Linked DNA regions of Homo sapiens: regions 2, 3 and 4 are each linked to region 1. The links are contacts of gene promoters, found by promoter capture Hi-C in blood cells and fetal thymus (Javierre and others, 2016). All regions are on one chromosome and are shown on one strand. The core of a region is centred on a gene start or on the middle of the fragment in contact, and the rest is flanking DNA. Distances in the headings are between cores, read along the strand shown. Region 1 holds the start of PKDCC (protein kinase domain containing, cytoplasmic). Region 2 has its middle 67 kb from the start of LINC01913. Region 3 overlaps EML4 (EMAP like 4). Region 4 overlaps EML4 (EMAP like 4).

Region 1 (2,992 bases), core at 236-2,735:
ATAGGCTGGAGATCAGGGACTCAGCTCTCTCCTCGGTCCTTCCATGTCCAAAGGAACAGGGCAGAAATTCCTGTCCCTTTCTCATCACAGACACTGCATTCTGTAGGAACGCCAGACCTCTTCAGGGAAAATCTCCCCTCCCTGGATACCCCCCCACCCACCCCCACCCCCAGAAAAAAGGCTGTGGACCCTTCTCCTCCCTGACCCCTCCCCAGCCAATCCCTGACACTGTGAGGAGGACAGAGATTAACCTGGCCCAGAGGGAGGCAGGAAGCTGCCCAGGAAGGTGAGAGGATCTAGGTGGGCAGTTTCAGAGTGGCGGGGAAGAGGAGAGCTGCGAGGGGGAGGGGCAGCGGCTTATCTCTCCCAGGAGGGGGGAGCTCACTCCAAACAGCTAGTGCACTGGCGTGTGAAAGCCCCTCAATTAGCACTAATGATGCAATCAGGGAGGGAGGAGGAGGGACCGAAGTTCTGGTGGCGTCAGCACCAACTTACACACAAGGTACACATTCCCTTCATCGGACACAATGGCCCCTTCAGACACGCCGAGGCACACACTCCACAGACAGCCGTCCGTGGGCACAAACGCACTCTTTGCCCAAGCTACTAGCATGCACATGGTTTCTTATACGCGGCTGACCCCGTCAGACCCCAGGCATCTTGAGGGGTAGGGAGCGACCCCCAGCTGCATTTGGGGCTTTAGAGGCAAGGAAAATCAGAAACACTTTGGTAAAAGGAGTTGAACAGGGCATCCTCGGCGAGCTCACGAGCATTCCTCTATGCCTAGAGCTCCTGTCCCACGCGCGCTCGCAGGTGCTGGCCCGGCTGTGCCCGCTTCCCCCTCACCATCGCCCCAATCCGGAATCCGGGGCTGAGCGAGGAGCCGCCACCCCCGGCCCCACCCGCGAGAGACGGGGTCCACGCGCCTTCCCTGCGCCCAAACCGCCCCGAGGCCCCCAGTCCCAGGAGGGAGCGCTGAGATCACTCGGATCTCCGCACCCCGGACTTAGCTGCTCGTCCCCTCCGGAGCCCGCTACCCGCCGGCCTCGCCCCTTTATCTTTCCCCCACTCCGCCCGGCCGGCTCCGTTATCCACCTCCCAATCCCGTTATCCGGCCGCCCCGGCCCCGTTATCCGCCCTCGCGTTGGGCGCGGAGCCCCCGCGCGCCTCCTGGCCGCCGCCGCCCCCTCCCCCGCTCCCAGACGGAGCTCGGGGGACCGCGGGCTGGGCGGGACCGCGGGCTGGGCAGGACCGGAGCCGCCTCCGCGCCGCTTCCCAGGCCCGGACGGCCGCGGGAGGAGGTCCCGCTGTCAGTCAGCGGGGAAGGCCGGGCCGGGCGGCCGGAGGGGGCGGCGCCGAGGACGGGCTCGGGCCGGGAGCTGGGAGGTGGAGGCGGAGGGGCGGGGGAGGGGGCGGGGGAGGGGGCGGGGGCGGGGGCGGGGGGCGGCTCTGGGCCTTATAAGCGGCGGGGGCAGGGCGGCAGGGAGGCAAGTGTCAGGCCGATGTGTCGCCCGCGAGGGGCCGGGGTCGGGGCCGCCGGGGCCATGCGCGCGGGCTGGGCAGGGGGCCGGCGGGGCGCAGAGCGGAGCCGCCTCGGAGCCTGAGCCGCCCGGGGCCGGGGCCGGGGAGCCGCGCGGGGCCGGCCGGCCGGGGGGAGGGGAGCGATGCGGCGCCGGCGGGCGGCAGTGGCCGCGGGTTTCTGCGCCTCCTTCCTGCTGGGCTCCGTCCTCAACGTGCTCTTCGCTCCGGGCTCGGAGCCTCCGAGGCCAGGCCAGTCCCCTGAGCCTTCGCCGGCCCCGGGTCCGGGCCGTCGCGGGGGCCGCGGGGAGCTGGCCCGGCAGATCCGGGCGCGCTACGAGGAGGTGCAGCGCTATTCCCGCGGGGGCCCCGGGCCCGGGGCGGGCCGGCCGGAGCGGCGGCGCCTGATGGACCTGGCTCCGGGCGGGCCCGGCCTGCCGCGCCCCCGGCCCCCTTGGGCCCGGCCCCTGTCCGACGGCGCCCCAGGCTGGCCCCCGGCTCCCGGCCCAGGCTCCCCCGGCCCGGGCCCGCGCCTGGGCTGCGCCGCGCTTCGCAACGTGTCCGGCGCGCAGTACATGGGCTCAGGCTACACCAAGGCCGTGTACCGGGTCCGCCTGCCCGGCGGTGCCGCGGTGGCGCTCAAGGCGGTGGACTTTAGCGGCCACGATCTGGGCAGCTGCGTGCGCGAGTTCGGGGTACGGAGGGGCTGCTATCGGCTGGCGGCCCACAAGCTGCTTAAGGAGATGGTGCTGCTGGAGCGGCTGCGGCACCCCAACGTGCTGCAGGTACGAGGGTGGGGACGCGGGGGTAACGGTGTTGGCTGGGAGTGCCCAAGACCTTGTCAACCTGGCTGGAAGAGAACCCCTTGATCTGGAGTGCCAGTGACTGCACCCAGGCTAAGCTAGACGCAGAAACCGGACCATGGCCCTTCCCACTGCACCACCCTGCTTCTCACTCCTGGGTGGGCGTCCCTTTACCGGAGAACTCCTGGGTTTCTCGGCTTCCACACATCTCTTAAAGACAGGCCAGGACAGAGGCTCCCAAAACTCAGGGGGTGGGGCAGTCCATTAGGATTTAGGACTCTACTCCGGGCTGGAGTTAGGAGGTTGAACACCAGGGATATTACCCCAAGCCAAAATGACCCTAAGCCAAGACACTTGAGTCAGAATTCCAACTGTGTGATAAAGTCCCCCTTCTTGATGGAACTTCTCCCAACTTCCAGTGATTTGTCTGGTTTTGAAAATGAGACGGGACAGCAGTGGGGCTGGGAAGAGCTGGAAAGAGACCATGTGTCAGGCTTGATTCCTATAGAGTCTCCCCACCCACCCACCTCCAGCGCCACCCAGAAGACACTGGAAGGGGGCTGGGGAGCAGGCTAGAAAAAGGGAACACAGTCCTTCCCAGAAGTGAACTAAGGGTTCCCCAGGCCTTAAAGTGGGTCCTTGAGCCCCTGGAGAAGCCTGAAGGTCTCAGC
Region 2 (2,992 bases), core at 259-2,758, 240 kb before region 1:
ATGTTCCTCTAAAATAATGGTATGGGAATTCTTGTTAAAGTGAATTCATGAAGATGTGCTCTCAAGAGAAATCTATTAAGAAGAAAGGGAAGCAAGATAGAGCAGAAGCAGCAGCTAAGCAAATATGTGGATTCGTAAAAAGTCTAGCTTCAGTCCATCCATACCACAGGAAGTTCTACATCATGGACTGCACCACAGGGTTTGTCCCACCTAGAAACAAGAGTGCTGGGTTGTTATATATCAACATCAGTGAGTCACTGTCTGGTATTGGAGGCAGGGGTCATAATTTCAAGGCATCTCCCAACTAGGTGACTCCCATCCATCAAAGGCAATCCTCCAAAGAAAGGTGAAGGTATGAACCAGTATTAGGCAAGACTTGGAGTAGCTGGAAGATAAGTGCACTGGCCCAGTTAAGGGAATTAGGTCCAGGCACAAATATCAATTCCTATGCTTACCACTTAAAGGAAAAACATTTCAGATTGGATCACAAAGCAAAACTGAACTCTATGTTGTATACTCAAGAGACAACCTAACACTGACACGAAGACAGATGAATAGACCAATAAAACGGAATAGAGAGCCAAGATACAAACTCATATATATATATATATATATATATATATACACACACACACACACACACACATATATATACGTATATATGTATATTTTGGTCAACTGGTCTTCAGCAAGGGTACCAAAAATACACAATGCAGAAAAAAAATAGTCTTTTCAGCAAAGAAAACTGGGAAAACTGGATATTCACACACAAAAAAAATGAAACTCGATCCCCTATCTTACACAAAAAAATCAACTCAAAATGAATTAAGGTTTTAAATGTAAGACCTAAAACTATAAAACTCCTAGAAGAAAACATAGGGGAAAAACTTTTTGACATTGGCTTTGGCAATGATTTATTGCATAGACACAAGAAATGCAAGCAACAAAAGCAAAAGTAGACAAGTGGAATTGCATCAAATTAAAAAGCTTCTGCACAGCAAAGGAGACAATTAGCAGAGTGAAAAGGCAACCCATGGAATGGGAGAATATATACGCAATATATATTTCATAAGTGATTAATATTCAAAATTCATAAGGAACTCATAGAACTCAATAGCAAGGAAACAACCCAATTTTTAAAATGGGAAAAGGACTTGAATAGACATTTCTCCAAAGAAGATGTATGAGTGGCCGATAAGTATATGAAAAGATTCTCAATATCACCAATCATCAGGAAAAGGCAAATCAAAACCCCAAAGAGATCGATATCATCTCATATCTGTTAGAGTGGCTATTATTACAAATATATATAAGTGATGCTGAGGATGTAGAGAAACTGGAACGCTTGTGAACTGTTAGCAAGAATGTAAAATGATGTAGCTACGATGGAAAACAGTATGGAGGTTCCTCAAAAAAAATAAAACTGCCATATGATCCAACAACCCCACTTCTGAGTATATATTCAAAAGAATTGAAATCAGGATTTCAAAGAGATACCTGTTCTCTCGTGTTCACTGCAGTGTTATTCACAATAGCCAAGATATGGAAAAAATCCAAATACTCATCAACAGATGAATAAAGAAAATCTGATATATTTATAAAATGGAAACTCAATCAGCCTTTAAGAAGGAAATCTTGTCATTTGCAAAAATGTGGATGAACCTGGAAAATATTTTGCTAAGTGAAGTTAAGCCAGTCACAGAGGGAAAAATATTGCATGATTCCACTTATATGAGGTAACTAAAATAGTCAAACTCATAAAAATGTTAAGTAGAATGGTGGCTTCCAGGGGTTGGAAGGAAGGGAAAATGGGGAGTTGCTGTTTAACAGGTATAAAGTTTCAGTTATGCAAGATGAATAAATTCTAAAGATCTATTGTTCAACATAGTGTCTATAGTTAATACTACTATATTATGCACTGAAAAATTGTTAAAAGAGGATCTCATCTCAAGAGTTTTTACAACAACAATAATGAAGAAAAAGGAAAATTTAAAGGTGACTGATAATGTCTATCACTTTTATTGTGAATGAAGCTTTCATAAGTATATTCATATGTCCAAATTCATCAAGTTGTAGCCATTAAATATGTAAAGTTTAACGATTACACCTAAATAAAGCTATTTTTAAAGGAAACAACCTAAACCAAAATTATTTGAAAAGACTAAAATTAAAGAGATAGGCAAATGTATACAAGGCAAATGAAAAATACTAGAAACAGTGATTGCCATCTTGATATCACATAGTGAAACCTCAAAAACAAAACACTGTGTGAAATAATAAAGGCCATTTTAAAATTCAAGCAATGCATTACAGTAAAAATACAGTTAATAATATCTTTGTCCCAAATAATATAACAACCATATTTATAAAGGAGAAACTACAAGAAATTCAGGGAGAAATGGTCAGAAAAACATTAACAATAGGATACATTAACCATTCTCAGTTAAAAGCAGGTCAAATAGACAAAAAAAATAGTAAGGATATAGAAGATCTAAACAAAATAATTAGTAAAATATAGATTAAAATGTATATTAAGCTCCCAAATACAACAATAGAGAATGTAATTTTTTTCAAGTGTACATGGAACATTCACAAAATTGACCATACATTAAGTTACAAAGAAAACCTCAATAAGTTTCATTTAAAAACAGAGACATACTAAAGGATATGTGGCAGACATATTCTAATGATCCCTAATGATCCATGCCCTTGTACAATCCCCTCTTCGTGAGTATGGACAGAACCTACAATGTGCTTCTAGTCAACAGAATATGACTTGGGGATGGGATGTCACTCCCATGAGTATACTATGTTATGTAAGACTCCATATTAGCAGACTAGAGTGAGAGATTCTTCTGCTGGTGATATGGTTCAGAAGCATGTTTCCTCCAAATCTAATTTTGAAATGTGATCCCCAGTGTTAGAGGTGGTGCCTAGTGGGAACTGTTTGGGTCATGTGGGTGGATCCCTCATGAATGCCTTGGTGCCCTCA
Region 3 (2,992 bases), core at 361-2,860, 240 kb after region 1:
TCCATTCTCCTGCACTTCCTCCCACGTCCCTTGAATTATTCCCTTCTTAGGCAGATATCAGCTTGGACACACTCACCAATCCTTTCATTCTGTACAACATATTTTTAACAAACATTCTGCCTACCAAACTGTTCCTTGCTATTACTTATTTATCATTTAGGTCCAGCATAAATATCCCTTTTCCAGATAGGCCTTCTTTTGGTCCCTCCCTTCTCTCTCTTTTTCTCTCCATCTAAATTAGGTCCTCCATTTGGGCTTTCTCCTAGCAGTCTTTTTTTTACCCCCCCACGATTTGTAATTTTATATTTGGTGATTTTTTTTTTTCTTTGCCAGAGGATAAGCTCTAGAGACATAGGGCCTACATTTTTTTTGTTCAGAACTGAATGTTCACCATTATGCCTGATACACATTAGGATTTCAATACATATTTGTCTGGTAAATGAGGAAACTAAGATCTTAACATACTGAAAGAGTCAGGTTACGCTAGGGATAATGGCAGGATATGAGTTTTCCTTTTTTTTGGTGGAGGGGTGGGGGTGGGCGGCAACAGGGTCTCTGTGGCCCAGGCTGGAGTGCAGTGGCACGATCACTGCTCACTGTAGCCTTGACCTGACCTCCTGGGCTCAAGTGATTCTCCCACCTCAGACTCCCAAGTAGCTGGAACTACAGGCACAGGCCACCATGCCTGGCTAATTTTTTTTATTTTCTGTCGAGATGGGGTCTCACTATTGCCCGCACTACTCTCAAACTCCTGGACTGAAGTGATCCTCCCACCTTGGCCTCCTGAAGGGCTAGGATTACACGTGTGAGCACTCTGCCCGTCCAGGACATGAGTTTTCTAGTTCTAGTTCAGTCTTCTTCATTGTACCTTCCTAATTCCTTAAGTATCCATGAAAAATCTGTTAACAACTTGAAAACTGTGTTTATTTAAAACCTTGACTCTTTTTCTGTTAAGATATGGTTATCGAGGAAAGGACTGTAGAGCTAATGTTTACCTTCTTCCGACCGGGAAAATAGTTTATTTCATTGCATCAGTAGTAGTACTATTTAATTATGAGGAGAGAACTCAGCGACACTACCTGGGCCATACAGACTGTGTGAAATGGTTGGTATCATTTAACATTGGTTCATTTTTGTTCTTTCAGGCCCTCATTTTGTATTTTTTAAATTTGGGTTTTATTGAAAGTGATTTCTTGTGGAAAGCTCAGAATGTAAAAATATTATGGGTCATCTGTTGAATATATTTTAAAAAGAAAAAAAGGACTTTCGGCCTCCAAAATGGTGGTGTGGTATCAGCAGCAACAAAACACATCCTCCATAAATCATGATTGGAACCTCTTCTGCTTTCTCATGTCGTACAGTCCTTCTCTTCTCTGGTCTGTAGTGTGAAACATATATGGGACAGACTGGACATTTTCAGGTTTCTGAAAGTGATTATTGGTTACTCGATATTTATTGAGGATTTGTCCTATGTAGATAAATTTTATACTTGAAGCTTTATTCTTTTGGGAAGAAAGAAATCTAGCTGAATAAGGATCATAAGTATGCCGTAGGATGTCATACTACAAATGTGAGAACTCCTTTTAAATGCTTTTAAATTATTTTGTTACTTTTTAGTTAAATGCAATTATTTATTGTTTATTAATATTTTCCAACTTTTATTTTTTATTTATTACCCTTTTCCCCACTTAGATCCAAGGACTGACTGGATGTTTTCCAACATTTAAAAGCTTTTATGTCTGTACTATGCTGGCACCTGTATCTTTATCCAGAAAAAAATTAATAGATGACTATTATAATATTATATAGATATTGAACTTTTGGAGTTGATTAAAATATTGCCTTTTACACTTGCAGAATAATGTATGTACAAAACTATTTACTGCAGCATTGTTTGTGATGAAGATTAGAAACAGCCTAAGTATTTTTCAGTTGGGGACTACTGGTGAGGTTGTAGTGTACCTATAGGTCACCATGTAGCTGTAAAGAATGAGGAAGCACTTTATGTATTAATATGTAAATATCCCTCTGATGTGTTCTTAAGTACAAATATTTAAGAGCAAGAGAATGTTCACAGTGTACAACCGTTGTTGAAAGAGTCTAGATATGGACATAAAGATGTCTTTTTCAGAAATTTGCTAGTCACTCATATACGTGCTGTGAGTAATTTAGGCACATATGCTACGCTACTTCCCATTTCTATTTAAAAATTCCTTGCCTCAGTTTGACTTACAAGAATTTAGCGCTAAGAACTAATTAAAAGATTGAAAGCACTATGTGTGAAGATGCTCATTGCTGTTTTCTTTTGTTGAAAAGTAAGAAATGGCCTAAAAGATGGAAGAGTTGTCAAGTCAGCATGTATGAGGATTATGTAGCAAAAGGAAAAAATGCTTGTACTTTAATAGATTAAAATTAAACAGCACAATATTGCATCTTCACTATAATAAAGTCGTGTGATTTGTATGCCATTGTGCGTGGACTAGAAAGGAACTTCAGCAAATGAAAACAGTTCGTTAGCATGCCACAGTTATAAATATTTTCTTTGAACTTAGTGTTTCATTAATCTGTGCAGCTTAACAAGTAAAAAGTACAGCTGAAAATTCAGAAATCTTCAGATATTTGATGATTGTTTGATTTGCTGAAGAAAACAGATAAACGTATGTTTTTTAACGATTAAAAACTGCTTATTTGAAAAATGTCAGTACAAAGGTATTCTGTTGTTTCATGTTTCCTGTGTTTAAAATCATTCTTAATACTGCTTTTTAGCCTTGCTATACATCCTGACAAAATTAGGATTGCAACTGGACAGATAGCTGGCGTGGATAAAGATGGAAGGGTGAGTGGCATAGTGTTATGCCTTCTGTACCTAGAGACATTGCTGTTAGAGTGGAATCTATTGTAATTTTAACCACAACTCATTTGTTTTATTCTTTTAAAATTTAAGTACTGAGGAATTTCTAGTATAAGCATGGAAAAAACATTAGGATATAAG
Region 4 (2,992 bases), core at 305-2,804, 170 kb after region 1:
TTCCAGATATTCTGTACTTGAGAATTACTACTTGGATCTCTCATGTATATGGATCTTCCTGAGCCTGTCTGAAGAGAATACAGTAGTGGAGGAAAGGAGAATTAAATTTGCCCTATCATAGTTAGTTCAGTGTCAGCCTTTCCTACTCGGTTCCTATCCATACAGCACAATACAATTCCATACTAAAGTACAAGAGTCCTCCTTTAAGTACTGAAGATGCTTTACTTTGACCACAAGAATATTTGAATTTTGGATTTTAACCAGTAGTATGGTAGTGGCTTCTTTTCAAAATCAGTGAAATTTCTTTTTTTAATTTTAAAGAGAGGGGGTCTTGCTGTGTTGTCCAGCCTAGACGTGAACTCCTGGGCTCAAGCAATCTTCCCATCTCAGCCTCGCAAGCAGCTAGGAATACAAACATGCACTGCAGCACTTGACTTAGTAAAAACTTTTAATGTAAGGTATAATGCAGTTAACTAATGCTTGTTATGCGTTTACTCCAAAATTTAACTGAAACACATTTGCTTGTTTCATCAGTGACATCATTTACACACCAATGACTCTTGGCCATGAAGAACCCACAGTGAACATAGAAAGTTTAGTTGTAGACCTTTAATTGATTAATTGTAGCAGAAACGGCATCAAATAAGGAAGAGCCCCCTTCATAAGGAAATACAGTTGACCCTTGAACAACACCAGTTTGAACTGGGCAGGTCCACTGATATGTGGATTTTTTCAACCAAACGTGGATTGAAAAATACAGTATTCCAGGGATGCCAAACCTGTGTATACAGAGGCCTCAGTTTTTGTATATGTGGATTGTGCAGGGCTGACTATGGGACTTGAGTATGCCCGGACTTGGTATATGTAGGAGTCCTGTAACCACCCTCCTGCATGTCTGAGGGATGACTGTAGATGTCTTTGAAAAGGTCTACCTGAAGTTCTGTAAATCTTAAGCTTGCTTTAGTTTCTACATTTAATTTTTCTTTTAGATTTTCATAGATTAGAAAATGACATTTTGCATTTAACAAAATTTTAAAAAATCAAAAAGTTTATGTATGTGGTTTTGTTTTGGTTTTGGTGCAGGACAATGCATTGAAAACCCCTTTCTGGCTGGGTGCAGTGGCTCACGCCTGTAATCCCAGGATTTTGGGAGGCCGAGGTGGGCAGATTACTTGACATCAGGACTTCAAGACCAGCCTGGCCAACATGGTGAAGCCCCATCTCTACTAAAAATACAAAAAAAAATTATTAGCCGGGCGTAAGGGGCGCATGTCTGTAATCCCAGCTACTTGGGAGGCTGAGGCAGGAGAATCACTTGAACCTGGGAGGTGGGGGTTGCAGTGAGCCAAGATCGTGCTACTGCAGTGCAGCCTGGGCGACAGAAGGAGACTCCATCTAAAAAAAAAAAAAAAAGGAAAACTCTTTTTTGCCAGGAATAGCTGCTTTGAAAATTTCTGTATAGGAAGGGCTTAAGGGGTGGCAGTTTGGGTAGGGGAGTATGTCTTGAAGATTTATTTTGTTGCTGCACATTATTTTCACTCATAGTGTATGTCATAGATCATTGGAAACAGCAAAATTCTCAAAAAATTGTTTTACTTATCTATAATACGTGTATAACACATAATTGAAAAAATACCAGTTATCCATATCAAATTCAGGCATACTTTGTTTTATTGTGCTTCATACTCTTGCACTTTGCAGATACTGTATTTTTTTTTTTTTTTTTTTTTACAAATTGAAGGTTTTTGGCAACCCTGCATTGAGCAAGTGTATTGGCCCCGTTTTTCCAACAGCATGTGTACCCACTTCATCTGTGTCACGTTTTGCTAGTTCTCACAGTATTTCAAACTTTTTCACTATTATTATATCTCTTACGGTGACCTGTGATCCATTACCTTTGATGTTACTGTTGTAATTGTTTTGGAGTGCCATGAGTGACACCCATTTAAGATAGCCTACTTAATAAATGTTGTGTGTTCTGACTGCTCCACACACTGGCTGTTCCTCTGTCTCTCTCCCTCTCCTCAGGCCTCCCTATTCCCTGAGATAACAATATTGAAATGAGGCCAGTTAATAATCCTACAATGGTTCTTAAGTGTTCAAGTGAAAGGAAGAGTGCACGTTTCTCACTTTAAATCAAAAGCTAGAAATGATGAAGCTTAGATGAAGAAGGCATGTCAAAAGCTGAGATAGGCTGAAAGCTAGGCTTCTCATACCAGACAGCCAGTTGTGAATGCAGAGAAAAAGTTTCTGAAGAGTGCTACTCCAGTGAACATATGAATGATAAAGTTAAACAGCCTTATTGCAGATACGGAGAATGTTTGCATGTTCTGAATATAAAGTCAGACCAGACACAACATTCCCTTAAGCCAAAGCCTAATCCAGAGCAAGGCTCTAACTCTCTTCATTTCTATGAAAGCTGAGAGACGTGAGGAAGCTGCAGAAGTTTGAAGCTAGCAGAGATTAGTTCATGAGGTTTAAGGAAAGAAGCCATCTCCATACATAAAAGTGCAAGGTGAAGCAGCAGGTTCTGAAGTGGAAGCTGCAGCAGGTTATCTAGAAGATTTAGCTAAGATCATTGATGAAGGTGGCTGCACTAAACAACAGATTATCAGTGTAGACAACACTGTCTTATATTAGAAAAAGATGTTACCCAGTACTTTCATAGCTAGAGAAGAGAAGCCAATGCCTGGCTTCAAAGGACAAGCTGACTGTTGAGGGGGTATTGTAGCTGATGACTTTAAGTTGAAGCCAGTGCTCATTGACCATTCTGAAAATCCTAGGGCCTTGGGATTATTCTACCCTGCGCATGTGTATGCTCTAGAAATGGAACAACAAAGCTTAGATGACAGCACATTGTTTACAACATGGTTTACTTTTTTTTTTTTTTTTTTTTTTTTGAGACAGGACCTTGCTTTGTCACCCAGGCTAGAGCGCAGTAGTGCTATCATGGCTCACTGCAGCCTCAATGTCCCGGGCCCAAGCAATCCTC

The links. The method cuts DNA at HindIII sites, captures the fragments that hold promoters and counts their contacts. A CHiCAGO score of 5 or more calls a contact.
Region 2: a fragment that was not itself captured here is called in contact with the fragment with the promoter of PKDCC in region 1 in 1 of 17 cell types (megakaryocytes); the score reaches 5.2 in megakaryocytes.
Region 3: a fragment that was not itself captured here is called in contact with the fragment with the promoter of PKDCC in region 1 in 1 of 17 cell types (naive B cells); the score reaches 5.0 in naive B cells.
Region 4: a contact is called between a fragment that was not itself captured here and the fragment with the promoter of PKDCC in region 1, in 1 of 17 cell types (naive B cells). The highest score is 5.6, in naive B cells.

The regions. Positions count from the first base shown.
Region 1 is chr2:42,046,536-42,049,527 of GRCh38, forward strand. It overlaps PKDCC (protein kinase domain containing, cytoplasmic), which reads left to right and starts at 1,486. Exons shown (of 7, transcript NM_138370.3): 1 at 1,486-2,303. The coding sequence starts at 1,665. RefSeq lists enhancers at 1-366, 367-871, 495-614, 2,115-2,374 and silencers at 785-1,074, 1,185-1,434, 1,585-1,764, 1,775-1,874, 2,005-2,074. The HindIII fragment of the contact is 13,255 bases long and covers 1-2,992 here.
Region 2 is chr2:41,809,067-41,812,058 of GRCh38, forward strand. No RefSeq gene overlaps it. Among named protein-coding and RNA genes, the nearest start is that of LINC01913, 67 kb to the right of the region's middle. The HindIII fragment of the contact is 1,046 bases long and covers 986-2,031 here.
Region 3 is chr2:42,281,868-42,284,859 of GRCh38, forward strand. It overlaps EML4 (EMAP like 4), which reads left to right. Exons shown (of 23, transcript NM_019063.5): 8 at 956-1,105; 9 at 2,767-2,836. Among named protein-coding and RNA genes, the nearest start is that of COX7A2L, 78 kb to the right of the region's middle. The HindIII fragment of the contact is 235 bases long and covers 1,494-1,728 here.
Region 4 is chr2:42,218,528-42,221,519 of GRCh38, forward strand. The region is part of intron 1 of EML4 (EMAP like 4); the gene reads left to right. Among named protein-coding and RNA genes, the nearest start is that of EML4-AS1, 50 kb to the left of the region's middle. The HindIII fragment of the contact is 1,204 bases long and covers 953-2,156 here.